Linked DNA regions of Homo sapiens: regions 1 and 2 are each linked to region 3. Evidence: promoter capture Hi-C in human tissues and cell types (Jung and others, 2019). All regions are on one chromosome and are shown on one strand. Each heading gives the region's core, a stretch centred on a gene start or on the middle of the fragment in contact. The rest is flanking DNA. Distances are from core to core; before and after follow the strand shown.

Region 1 (3,997 bases), core at 38-2,537, 380 kb after region 3:
CTGTGATAGCACCACTGCACTCCAGCCTCTCGACAGAGATCCTGTATAAAAAAACCTCTGCATTTCACTGTATGTAAATTATACCTCGATTCAAAAACAAAATGTGGCCGGGCAGGGGGCTGACCCCCCCACCTCCCTCCGGGACGGGGCGGCTGGCCTGGCAGGGGCTGACCCCCACCTCCCTCCCGGACGGGGCGGCTGGCCTGGCGGGGGCTGACCCCCACCTCCCTCCCGGACGGGGTGGCTGCCGGGCTGAGACGCTCCTCACTTCCCAGACGGGGTGGCTGCCAGGCGGAGGGGCTCCTCACTTCTCAGACGGGGCGGTTGCCAGGTAGAGGGTCTCCTCACTTCTCAGACGGGGCGGCCGGGCAGAGATGCTCCTCACCTCCCAGACGGGGTCGCGGCCGGGCAGAGGCGCTCCTCACATCACAGATACTTGAAGGCAGCATGCTCGTTAAGAGTCATCACCACTCCCTAATCTCAAGTACCCAGGGACACAAACACTGCGGAAGGCCGCAGGGTCCTCTGCCTAGGAAAACCAGAGACCTTTGTTCACTTGTTTATCTGCTGACCTTCCCTCCACTATTGTCCTATGACCCTGCCAAATCCCCCTCTGGGAGAAACACCCAAGAATGATCAATTAAAAAAATAAAAAAATAAATAAATGTGAACAGTACAGTCCCCTTTTCCTTTTATAAATGAAGAAAAACAAAGGCTCACTCCAAGAGTCAGACTTGCTAAAGGCTTTGATGATTTGCAGTATTCTTATTTAAATGTACAGAGCCAGCTTCAGAGGAAGGTTCTTCCAAAGACCTATCCCCTCCATGACACCAACCATCCATGATTTTTTTTTTTTTTTTTGAGACGGAGTCTTACTCTGTTGCCCAGGCTGGAGTGCAGTGGCATGATCTCGGCTCACTGCAAGCTCTGCCTCCCAGGCTCACACCATTCTCCTGCCTCAGCCTCCCAAGCAGCTGGGACTACAGGCACCCGCCACCACACCTGGCTAATTTTTTTGTATTTTTTTAGTAGAGATGGGGTTTCACCTGTAGCAGGACGAGCTGCAGACAAAACTCCTCAGACACCGAGTTAAAGAAGGAAGGGGTTTATTAGGCCGGAGGCATCAGCAAGACTCCTGTCTCAAGAGCCGAGCCCCCGCCCCGAGTGAGCAATTCCTGTCCCTTTTAAGGACTCACAAGTCTAAGGGGGTGTGCGTGAGAGGGTCGTGATCGATTGAGCAAGCAGGAGGTACGTGGGTACGTGACTGGGGGCTGCACGCACCAGTAATTAGATTGGAACAAAACAGGAATGAGATTTTCACAATGCTTTTCTATACAATGTCTGTAATCTATAGATAACATAACCGATTAGGTCCGGGATTGATTTTCAACTACCAGTCCCAGGGTGTGGCGCCCGGGCTGTCTGCTTGTGGATTTCATTTCTGCCTTTTAGTTTTTACTTTTTCTTTCTTTGGAGGCAGAAATTGGGCATAAGACAATATGAGGGGTGGTCTCCTCCCTTATTCCCCCACTTTGAGACTCTCACTCAATAGCAGGAGTTGTTTCATGTTTACTACCCATGTCTTCTTGCTAGACAGATCAATAGTGATTTATATAGTACACTTGTGCTGATGCATTTTGGTATACTAAGGTAGCGATGAAGCTTTTTATCATTTGAAGAAGTACAGGTAGCAAACGAGGGAGCAGTAAGTAGGTTCCTATTACTATTATAACTCTTATTATAAGAGTTTTAAATCCTCCTAGCGCTGGGAACCATTTTCTAAACATGGCCCCAGGATCAAATCCATGCCACACTTGCACGGGCACATGTGCCACTTTTGTCATATCTCTAACTATGTCTTCAACTACTTGCCCTTGGTTATCTATGTGTAGGCAGCAATTAGTAAGGTTAAATTTCCTACAGACCTCTCCTTCAGCTGCTAGCAAGTAGTCGAGAGCTAATCTATTTTGATAGATAGCATTTCTCATCTGAGTTTCTTGCTGGGCCAGAATAGTCAAGGCTCTGCCGGTTGCAGTGATTATTTTTAAGACAGCTTGTAACCGTATGATTCAGTTGATCATATAAATGGGGATCCGGTATCCCCACGAGCCATCTTGTGCCTAAGTAGCAGGCCCATAATACTGTATGATTCTCTCAGGGGGCCATTTATCATTGTTTCAATTTCTTATAGCTATGCTTTTCACGGGAAGCATAGACAGGGAAGCCCAGGAGTTCTCCTGTTTTTATGGACAGTAGGAAGAAAGATGGTTTAATAGTGCCAATAACACAACTACTTGTCAGGCAGCTTAGTGTAGGCTCTATGTCCACATATCCAGTATAGCCCAGTGGGGGCTGTCCAGTCCCGGTGGGATTCTGGGTGGGCCTAAACGGTCTGCAACTTTGGAAATTTACTGAATGGATTTTTCTCTGTGTGGTTTGAACTCCACCATGTAGTCTTCCTACAGGAAGGGTGAAGTCCTTCTCCACTCTTGCTATATAGTATTGTCTAATGATTGAGGCTTTTAGGACCCAGAAATTATCAGGGTGATTCTTTTGAGCTGGGAATTCATCAGGAACTGGGTCTGTAGGTACTAATTCTCGGGCTTCCCATGGCCATTGATCTGCTATTACAGTTCCTCCACATACATAACATGAAGTGACAGTGAGAGACTGGGCTACATGCTCGGCTAATTGCAAAAACAAATTTCTTGTTTTTCCTGGAAATTCTGTTATTGGCACATTTAGTTCATCATAGAAAGTTTGAAACACTGGCTCAAGAGAGCATTTGTAAACTTCTCCTCGAACCAAGATATTTACTCGGGGATTCAGTCCAGCCCCATTGATTCCTAAGGTCACACGCTACTCTTTTTTCCAGCGAGGATCAAGGGGATTGGTTATTACTAGCTCTAAGGGGTTACATTGTCCCTTAGCACAGGAAGGGCCATTTTTTTCCTTTCTGAAGGTGGACTGGATCCTTTTCATTTTTTTTAAATCCAAGTGGCCTAAATGACACAAGACCAGTATTTACATTTATTTCCACACAGTCCTAATTTATGACAGATGTACTTATTTTCTGCCATATAGCCTCTTTTCTAATTAAGAGAACCACACTTTATTCCTAACTTATTACTATTAATGACAGCACAGGCATCAAATTTTAAGGTGACTTGTTTGGGCACCCCTTTTTCTTCTGTTTTGGCTAACACTTTACTCATATCATTTATGAGCCCCCACCAGTCCTCAGTCCTTAATCTTATTTTAAAAACCGTGGTCATGGGAGGCTCAGATGGGTCATAACACACATCAGGTTGGTCACTTCCTGGGCTACATACCTTGTACAGAATAACATTATACAAACAAGTTATTTTTAGAGTTCCAGTACACTTATAATAACCATAAAATAATAGGACTGTAGCAACCTTTTGTCCTACCTCAGTGACTTGATGTATACACTGGAACAGTCCTCAGTCTGAGGAAGGTCAGTTGAAGTCCTTACTGTAAAAGTCCAAATTTTAAGGAAAATGAGTTCCGCAATGAGTTTTCTCATGCTTCGGCCGTGCGTGGACCAGTCAGCTTCTGGGTGTGACTGGAGCAGAGCTTGTCGTCTTCTTCAGAGTCACTTTGCAGGGGTTGGCGAAGCTACTCCCGTCCACGTACCCCTCACAGTCTACTGATGTTTAAGGATAGTCTCGGAGGTTGGGCCTGCTAGAATAAACTGAGTCCAACACCTCTACACAGTATGTTCAACTAGGCTCTCTGATACCAGGAGCAAGGTGGTGGGGTTTAGGGTGTTGCAAACTTCAGTGGTTATGTGGGGATTTTCACATAGCAAGCTTTGGTACTTGGTTAATCTAGCATTTGTAACCAATGAGGTCCTTTGGTAGTCATTAAAGTTACCACAGCATGGGGGGCCTTTATATTCAGGTTTTCCTAAGGGTTAGTTTATCTGCTTCTTGTGCTAACAGGGCTGTTGCTGCTAGGGCCCTTAGACCTGGGG
Region 2 (4,353 bases), core at 636-3,135, 460 kb before region 3:
GGTGCAATTTTGGCTCACTGCAACCTCCGCCTCTCAGGTTCAAGCGATTCTCCTGCCTCAGCCTCCCGAGTAGCTGGGACTACAGGCGCCCACCACCACACCCAGCTAATTTTTTGTACTTTTAGTAGAGACGGGGTTTCACCGTGTTAGCCAGGATGGTCTTGATCTCCTGACCTTATGATCCGCCTCGGCCTCCCAAAGTGCTGGGATTACAGGCGTGAGCCACCATGCCCGGCTGCTTAAGTTTCTTAAATACAGAAAGGCTATGCTGATACAGTGTTTTTTGCCCTTTAATTGTTATTATTTCTTAATTTAAAAAGAAACCTAGGGCTTAGATAGTCCTATCTTCTATTTGGATGTCAGCAAGGTTAAAAAGTGCAATGCCAGGAGTATGTAGCTATAGGTGGCCTGTGGCATTTGCTTACAGAAACAGGCAGAAGGATGCCGCAGGCACCAGGAGGCACTTGTCTAAGAACAACAACAACAATAACAAAAAGCTGCTGAGAAAGGAGGGCAGGGGAACAAAACAACACAAGACATTTCCTTTTTCTCCCTCTAGCCACCCCCCGCCACATCCCCTGATCATGGGTCTCAGAGAACACATCCTTATTTGCATTTAGATAAAAGCAGATCACCCACATTCACTCATTTCTCTATTTTTAAAAGTGCCCAGATTGCTCAAAGATAGCAGAAGTAGGAGATTAAAAAAAATCTGGAACCACAAAGTTAGTAGTTTCAGATGATCTGGGGTTTGGCTGTGTGAGGGGTGGCAGAATGCAGGTAGGCGCCTCAGTCGTATCTTTCTGCAGCTTCCGTTCTCAGCTCCTCACATGGGGGAGGTAGCGCACTCCGAGGTCAACTCCATGTCAAAGGTGAGGGACTCTGGAGGGACAGACAGGGAAAACTAGTTCAGTTGTCCACCCTCTGCAACTGGCAGGCCACGCCCCCAGCCCTTCAGAGGACAGGGCCCAGGCTACCACTGCTATCCAATCTCCTGCCCCTTAAGGCCCAGGGATGGTCAGAAAAGCCAGATTTACCCTCCTCCCTGGAGGACCCTGCCTCGGGAAGGGTCCTTTCTCATTCCCACCTTAACTGATTCCCAGAGCTCCATGTTTACAGAAGCTCTAAGGCTGTCCTGAGATCTTCTGCCCTTGATCTACTGTTTAATTCAGGAGCCCCGAGACACACGTGGCCACCAAGCATTTGAGATTTGGTTTGTCCAAACTGAGCTGTGCTGTGGCTGTCAAAAGCCCACTGGATTTTAAAGGCTTAGTATGAAAAAAAAGAATAAAAAAAGGTCTCAACTTTTTCTTTTTAGTTTAGTTTTGTTTATTTGAGATGGAGTCTCACTCTGTCGCCCAGGCTGGAGTGCAGTGGCACGATCTCTGCTCACTGCAACCTCCACCTCCCAGGCTCAAGCGATCCTCCCACCTCAGCTTCTTGAGTAGCTGGGATTACAGGTATGCGCCACCATGCCCAGCTAATTTTTATATTTTAGAGATTTTGGTCAGACTGGTCTCGAACTCCTGACCTCAAGTGATCCACCCACCTCGGCCTCCCAAAGTGCTGGGATTACAGGCATGAGCCACTCACCCAGCCTCAACTTTTTCTGAAATGTTAAATTGAGAGTATGTTGGATTTAGTGGGTTAAATAAAATATATTGTAAAAATTAAGTTCGTCTATTTCCAGTGTGGCTGCTAGAAGATTTATACTCACACATGTGGCATTCATACCATCTCTTTTGGAAAGCAAAGCTCTAGAATCTCCTACCATTCCGAGTGACCAGCTCTCGGTGTGTACATGTGAGAGCATCACACAAAGGGGACCAACTTCCCTTATAGGGACAAAGTCTGTCAACCAAATACTCACCAAACTGCCCTCCTGCTGAGGGTTCAGCACCTTCACCATTATTTCCAAACTGCATCAATGAATCTAAAGTGCGGGGGGACATCGGCAGGTCAATGGTATTGCTGCAGGTCGTTCTGTAGGAAATGGGGGGCAGCAGGAGGGGAAACGGGGGGTTGACAAGACACAATGGAAAAAAAAAAAAGAACAAAACACACACACACAAGCCATCAAACTCTGGTCTCCAACAGAAAAATAAAAGCTCAAGCTTTTTAAACACACAAGGTCACTTTGAGTACTAAACATAGCCCAGGGGCTTCCAACCTTTGGCAGATTAACTCTCACCCAGTGTCCCATTCCCAGGGATAACTGAGGATATTAGAAATGAAGGCAAAACGGGGAAAGGAAGCCACTTACGGTGTCACACAGATAAACTTGGTCTTCAGGTATGGGGCAGCGCCTGGGAAGAAGAAAACCAGTTTTCTTACTGACTGTGACTTCGCATTCAGTAAGCAGAGCTGGAGGAAGCCATCTGCCTCGGCAGGACTGATTTGAAACTCACTCATCCTCATGCCAAGATTGTCTGGAAAGCTCCATCTGCCCCTCAGGGTTGTCTGCCCTCATTTATACTATTTGATCTCCCAGGCACTAGCAGCTGTGAACTTCAGTTCTTTGCACAAAGCTGTCCTGAGCTGCAGAGACTTTTCAGCATAACCTTTTCCCACCTGACCCTAGACTAATGCCACCTTGTGTCCCTTCTTTCCCTAGATTATGTAAAAGTTTAACAGCCTCCACGTGGTCTGAGCATTCTATTCCGGCCTGGTCATATCTCTTAGATAACTTCTCTGCATGCAGGAACCGAGCCTGTGTAGTCTTTGCATGGTGTCCAGCCTAAATACCAATATCACCAAGTCTTTAAAGAACATGGAGACTGCTAATGCTTGTGGTTCCAAAGCCAAAGGTTATATCTCTTATTCCTACCAGCACTAATCTGGCCTCTACCACATTTTTGGATGAGGGCATGAGTAACTTTCTAGTTGGATAAATACGTCAATCAAAAAGCACCAAAGAGAATGTGACTTTGTAAGGCAGTACAATTGCTTCAACTAGAAGACCGGAGACCTGGGTCCAGGTACATCTTCAATAGCTAAGAGACCTGGAGCAAGGCATGGTCTCTCTCTTTTGTTGCTGTTGTTCTTATTGTTTTGAGACAGAGTCTCACTCTGTTGCCCAGGCTCAAGTGCAGTGGCACAATCTCGGTTACCGCAACCTCCTACTCCCAGGTCAAAACGATTCTCCTGCCTTAGGCTCCCAAGCAGCTGGGACTACAGGTGGCACCACCATGCCTGGCTAATTTTTGTCTTTTTTTTTTTTGAGACGGAGTCTTGCTCTCTTTCGCCCAGGTTGGAGTGCAGTAGCGCCATCTTGGCTCTCTACAACCTCTGCCTCCAGGGTTCAAGTGATTCTCCTTCATCAGCCTCCTGAGTAGCTGGATTACAGGCATCTGCCACCATGCCTAGCTAATTTTTTTTTTGTAATTTTAGTAGAGATGAGGTTTCACCATGTTGGCCAGGCTGGTCTTGAACTCCTGACCTCAGGTGATCCATCTGCCTCACCCTCCCAAAGTGCTGGATTACAAGTATGAGCTATCATGCCCAGCCTTGGCCACAATGCCCAGCCCATATTCTCTTTTATGTATAAAATAAGAGGGAGGGGGAAGACAAGGTGCCAATTTTCTATGAGCTTTGTCATTTATAATTCTTGTTCTACAGTTAGAAATGCGTTGACGGGAATAAAATGAATTTTAGATGCTGAATGCTTACACCAAGAGGTCAAGGAACCTTGGGGATACTGGCATGAAATCTGGGGAATTCAGGTGAACAAACCATTGAGAAGGCATGGGGCAGGGTGAGGTGGGCTGAGAACAGCACGGTCATAAAACATGAGGCTTAGACAGAACCTGAGGGATCAGAGAGCATGATGACCATGTGAAAGAAGGCACTGCAGAGTGGCTCTTGGGCTGCCATCTGAGTTTACTTTGGGCCAAGAAACTGATCAATTCAGTGCAGAATTCAAAGGAGCTACTGAGGCAAGACTCTAGTGTCTTATAAATCCAACTGTTTTGGCCCAGCCCTTAGGGAGCTGACACCCTAGACAGAAAAGGATTTAATTCTCCAGCATTCAAGATAGCTGAGGCCAGGCACAGTGGCTCATGCCTGTAATCCCTGCACTTTGGGAGGCTGAAGCAGGTGGATCACTTGAGGCCAGGAGTTCAAGACCAGCCTCACCAACATGGGGAAACCCTGTCTTTAATGAAATTACAAAAATAGCTGGGCGTGGTGGCACGCCTGTAATCCCAGCTACTCAGGAGGCTGAGACAGGAGAATCACTTGAACCTGGGAGGCAGAGGCTGAAGTGAGGTGAGATCGCACCACTGCACTCCAGCCTGGGTGACAGAGTGACAGACTGTCAAAACAAAACAAAAACAAAAACAAGGCTGGGCACTG
Region 3 (4,140 bases), core at 521-3,020:
TATAGATGGCTTATGCATACCCTGCCTCTGGGAGGTCTCGGCTTCCAGCCAGAGCACTCTCCTCAGAGGCCTTGGGCCTCAGGAGCTGATTGTCTCTGCCTATCTCTCCCTGTTCAGAGTTCCACGGGCTGGATGAAGCCACTCTACTGCGGGCTCTGCAGGCCCTACAGCAGGAGCACAAGGCCGAGATCATCACTGTCAGCGATGGCCGAGGCGTCAAGTTCTTCTAGCAGGGACCTGTCTCCCTTTACTTCTTACCTCCCACCTTTCCAGGGCTTTCAAAAGGAGACAGACCCAGTGTCCCCCAAAGACTGGATCTGTGACTCCACCAGACTCAAAAGGACTCCAGTCCTGAAGGCTGGGACCTGGGGATGGGTTTCTCACACCCCATATGTCTGTCCCTTGGATAGGGTGAGGCTGAAGCACCAGGGAGAAAATATGTGCTTCTTCTCGCCCTACCTCCTTTCCCATCCTAGACTGTCCTTGAGCCAGGGTCTGTAAACCTGACACTTTATATGTGTTCACACATGTAAGTACATACACACATGCGCCTGCAGCACATGCTTCTGTCTCCTCCTCCTCCCACCCCTTTAGCTGCTGTTGCCTCCCTTCTCAGGCTGGTGCTGGATCCTTCCTAGGGGATGGGGGAAGCCCTGGCTGCAGGCAGCCTTCCAGGCAATATGAAGATAGGAGGCCCACGGGCCTGGCAGTGAGAGGTGTGGCCCCACACCGATTTATGATATTAAAATCTCAACTCCCACTGCCTGCCTCTTAAATTACTACAGTACTGGAATGGGGATGGGGAGGGCTGTGAAGTGTTGCCACCTGAGTAAATCCCAGCCTGGGAGAGGGGAGAGAAAAGAAAGCTTATGGCTTTTGTAGAAGAAAAGGTCCTCCAGGGCCCTGTGGGCTCCAGTGAGCCTGTGGTTTTACATCTGCTGGGTGGGCTGTGTGGAGGAGTGCTGATGGAACACAGCTTGGGGACAGACTGCTTTCTCTCTGAATTGGAGTCACTTAAGGGCTCCCCCTTCCCTCACCATCTCCCTCATGGAAGTCCTGAACTACTCTGAAGCCCCTCCCTCCACCCATCTGGTCTGGGTGGGGTAACTGTGGCCAAGGGGAGCTGAGGGGGGTAAGCCGGATGTGGACTTTGGTTTATTGGAGACTGGCAAACAGAAGGGGAGGAAGGAGAGCCCATATAGCAAAAACAGCCACTCTGGCCAGGGTTAGGCTGCGGCCAAGGTGGCCTGGAGGGGATGGATGACCGGGCTCTCGGTTTGGGGGAGGGACTTATCCTGGGGAGTACACACCCATTCCCTATGCAGACCAGAGGGACAACAACGTCAGACCTTTCCACTGACCTCTCCGTTCGGCCTGGGGCTACTCCGGACAGTTAGGAGGGGGTGGTGCTGCCTTATCTGGGGTGTGCAGGAGGGTGGTAGCCTCCCCCTAAGTAATCCCCCACTAGGGTCCGGGTGTCGTTCTCTCCTGCCCTCCTCCGCGCACAAACAGGTTTGCTCACTCTTAGTGCGGGAGGATGCTCCGCGGTCTCCCACTCAGTTCTGGCCTCAGAGTGAGACTGCGGCCGGGGGCTCGGGAAAGAAGGGGACGCGGCTGGGCGGGGCGGTGACTAAGGTGAGGGGCTGCTCGCGGGATCCGCACCGCGGGAGCAGCTCGGAGGGGCGGCCCTGGGGGGCAAGGGCGGGCCGCGGGGCGGCGACGGGGGCGGGGCCAGGCCGAGCTGGGGGCTGGGGCCGCAGCCGCTCAGCCGGAGCGCAGCGCACCCAGCGAGTCCGTCTGTCAGGCCGCCTCCTCTCCGGCCGTCTGATTTTCTACCCTTCGGCGCCCTGCTCTTCCTCATGTTGGCATCCCCGGCCACGGAGACCACCGTCCTCATGTCCCAGACTGAGGCCGACCTGGCCCTGCGGCCCCCGCCTCCTCTTGGCACCGCGGGGCAGCCCCGCCTCGGGCCCCCTCCTCGCCGAGCGCGCCGCTTCTCCGGGAAGGCTGAGCCCCGGCCGCGCTCTTCTCGTCTCAGCCGCCGTAGCTCAGTCGACTTGGGGCTGCTGAGCTCTTGGTCCCTGCCAGCCTCACCCGCTCCGGACCCCCCCGATCCTCCGGACTCCGCTGGTCCTGGCCCCGCGAGGAGCCCACCGCCTAGCTCCAAAGAACCCCCCGAGGGCACGTGGACCGAGGGAGCCCCTGTGAAGGCTGCGGAAGACTCCGCGCGTCCCGAGCTCCCGGACTCTGCAGTGGGCCCGGGGTCCAGGGAGCCGCTAAGGGTCCCTGAAGCTGTGGCCCTAGAGCGGCGGCGGGAGCAGGAAGAAAAGGAGGACATGGAGACCCAGGCTGTGGCAACGTCCCCCGATGGCCGATACCTCAAGTTTGACATCGAGATTGGACGTGGCTCCTTCAAGACGGTGTATCGAGGGCTAGACACCGACACCACAGTGGAGGTGGCCTGGTGTGAGCTGCAGGTGCGGCTGGGAGCCCCCTCGGTGGCACCTTGGGATGGGACTCTGGAGGTCTTAGGATGACAGACAGAGGGTGGGGGAGACAGCATCAAGGGAAGCATGTATTTTTCCAGTCAAATGTCTATAGACACCTCTGCTGTCTTTGCCCTGAATGATCTGGCTGACTCTGGGCTGCAGAAGGAGAGATTGAGGCAGGTGGTGTCTGGTGACTCCCCCATGGGTATGAACATTCTCACTTTAAAGTCTCCATACTCAACCCTGAGAGGTGGAAAATAGGATGGGAAGTTAGGCAGGGGAGCCAGTTCAGGTCAGTTTCCTGCTGGTGGGTACCCGCAATCCCTTCCTCTCCCCTAAGTCCTGAGATCCTCAGTTATGACCCTGGTCCTCTTGATCCCCTCACTCCTCCCGTCCCCCACCTATTTGCAGACCAGGAGGCTGGGATGCGGGAAGCCAGGAGCTGGGCAAGGGTCATCTCCAACTCCAGAAGATTTAGGGCAGTTGTGGCAGAATAGGGCCCCCTAACCCCTTCTGGAGCAGTCAGACTTCTGGACTTCTCCACAGCTGCGAGGAGGGGGACATAGGGAGCTCCAGCTCTCGAGTGAGTCCAGTTCTGCTCCTCATCCCACTGCCTACCTGTGCTCTCCCTTCCCAGACCTAAAGGCACTAAGCCCATGGGCTTTAGGGGGACCTTCCTCCCATTGCTCCCATGCTACATATGGGTTAGGAGAACCCAGTCAACTTGGGGCCTGAAGCTTCCGATTCAGATCAGGGGACAGAGCCTAGGGGAAGGGTCCCTCTCCAGCCCTGGCACAGGGCTCGCCCCTTGCGCCTGCCAGTGCCGCGCCCCAGGCTCTGGGCCAGGCCAGGAGAGGCAGCCAAATTGGGGGGTGAGGGGAGGGAGAGGAGCCGGGGCGGGACGACTATGGGGGTGGGCAGCCTCCTGGCGCCTAGTCCTGGATCTTTTCTTTCCTTCTCAGTACCTCCCTCCATATCCCTCCCGCCTTCCGTCTGGATCTAGCAGTTCTGTTTCTGGGGCCAACCCCCTTGCCGGCCCCAATTCCCTGCCCGCAGTATCCTGCTGCCCGCCTGCTGCCTGCTCACTGCCAGCCCCCGGGTGCCCCCTCCCGCCCCATGGCCGGCCTGGGCAGCCACAAAGGCACTATTGAGCTCAGGGCTCTGGGACCGGGCTGCATAAAGGTGCTTGTGTCCAGCAGGGGGTCTAGGGGGCTGCCCCAGGCCCAGGTTGGGTGTGTCCTTGGATCAGCTTACGTGCGGGACTGTTGGAGAGTTCAGGGTCTGCAGCCCACTGGGCAAGTAATCCCATTAACCCCACCCCATCTGTGGGCTCCAACCCTCACCTCTTCCCCCAACCCCACTCCAGGTGTCCCTCTTCCTTTCTGTGGGTGTCCTGGGCCTGACATGACACCCGTCCCCCATCCCACAGACTCGGAAACTGTCTAGAGCTGAGCGGCAGCGCTTCTCAGAGGAGGTGGAGATGCTCAAGGGGCTGCAGCACCCCAACATCGTCCGCTTCTATGATTCGTGGAAGTCGGTGCTGAGGGGCCAGGTTTGCATCGTGCTGGTCACCGAACTCATGACCTCGGGCACGCTCAAGACGTGAGCTCTGCGCATGAGTGGGTGGGGAGAGGGAGGCTGGGATGTGTGC

The links. The method cuts DNA at HindIII sites, captures the fragments that hold promoters and counts their contacts. A contact is called where the count stands out against the background at its distance.
Region 1: a contact is called between a fragment that was not itself captured here and the fragment with the promoter of WNK4 in region 3, in 1 of the 25 tissues and cell types used here (thymus).
Region 2: a fragment that was not itself captured here is called in contact with the fragment with the promoter of WNK4 in region 3 in 1 of the 25 tissues and cell types used here (heart left ventricle).

The regions. Positions count from the first base shown.
Region 1 is chr17:43,159,199-43,163,195 of GRCh38, forward strand. All of the region lies in intron 1 of LOC101929767 (a long non-coding RNA gene), which reads right to left. It overlaps LOC124900391 (a long non-coding RNA gene), which reads right to left. Exons shown (of 2, transcript XR_007065760.1): 2 at 1,090-3,997. It also overlaps a transcript of BRCA1 not described here. Among named protein-coding and RNA genes, the nearest start is that of NBR1, 10 kb to the right of the region's middle. RefSeq lists an enhancer at 214-744. The HindIII fragment of the contact is 5,552 bases long and covers 1-3,997 here.
Region 2 is chr17:42,314,919-42,319,271 of GRCh38, forward strand. It overlaps STAT3 (signal transducer and activator of transcription 3), which reads right to left. Exons shown (of 24, transcript NM_139276.3): 22 at 2,264-2,306; 23 at 1,871-1,983; 24 at 1-882. The coding sequence ends at 827. Among named protein-coding and RNA genes, the nearest start is that of STAT5A, 29 kb to the left of the region's middle. The HindIII fragment of the contact is 8,739 bases long and covers 1-4,353 here.
Region 3 is chr17:42,778,840-42,782,979 of GRCh38, forward strand. WNK4 (WNK lysine deficient protein kinase 4) reads left to right here and starts at 1,771. Exons shown (of 19, transcript NM_032387.5): 1 at 1,771-2,477; 2 at 3,919-4,091. The coding sequence starts at 1,860. VPS25 (vacuolar protein sorting 25 homolog) reads left to right here. Exons shown (of 6, transcript NM_032353.4): 6 at 118-760. The coding sequence ends at 230. RefSeq lists enhancers at 1,844-2,801, 4,091-4,140. The HindIII fragment of the contact is 5,514 bases long and covers 1-4,140 here.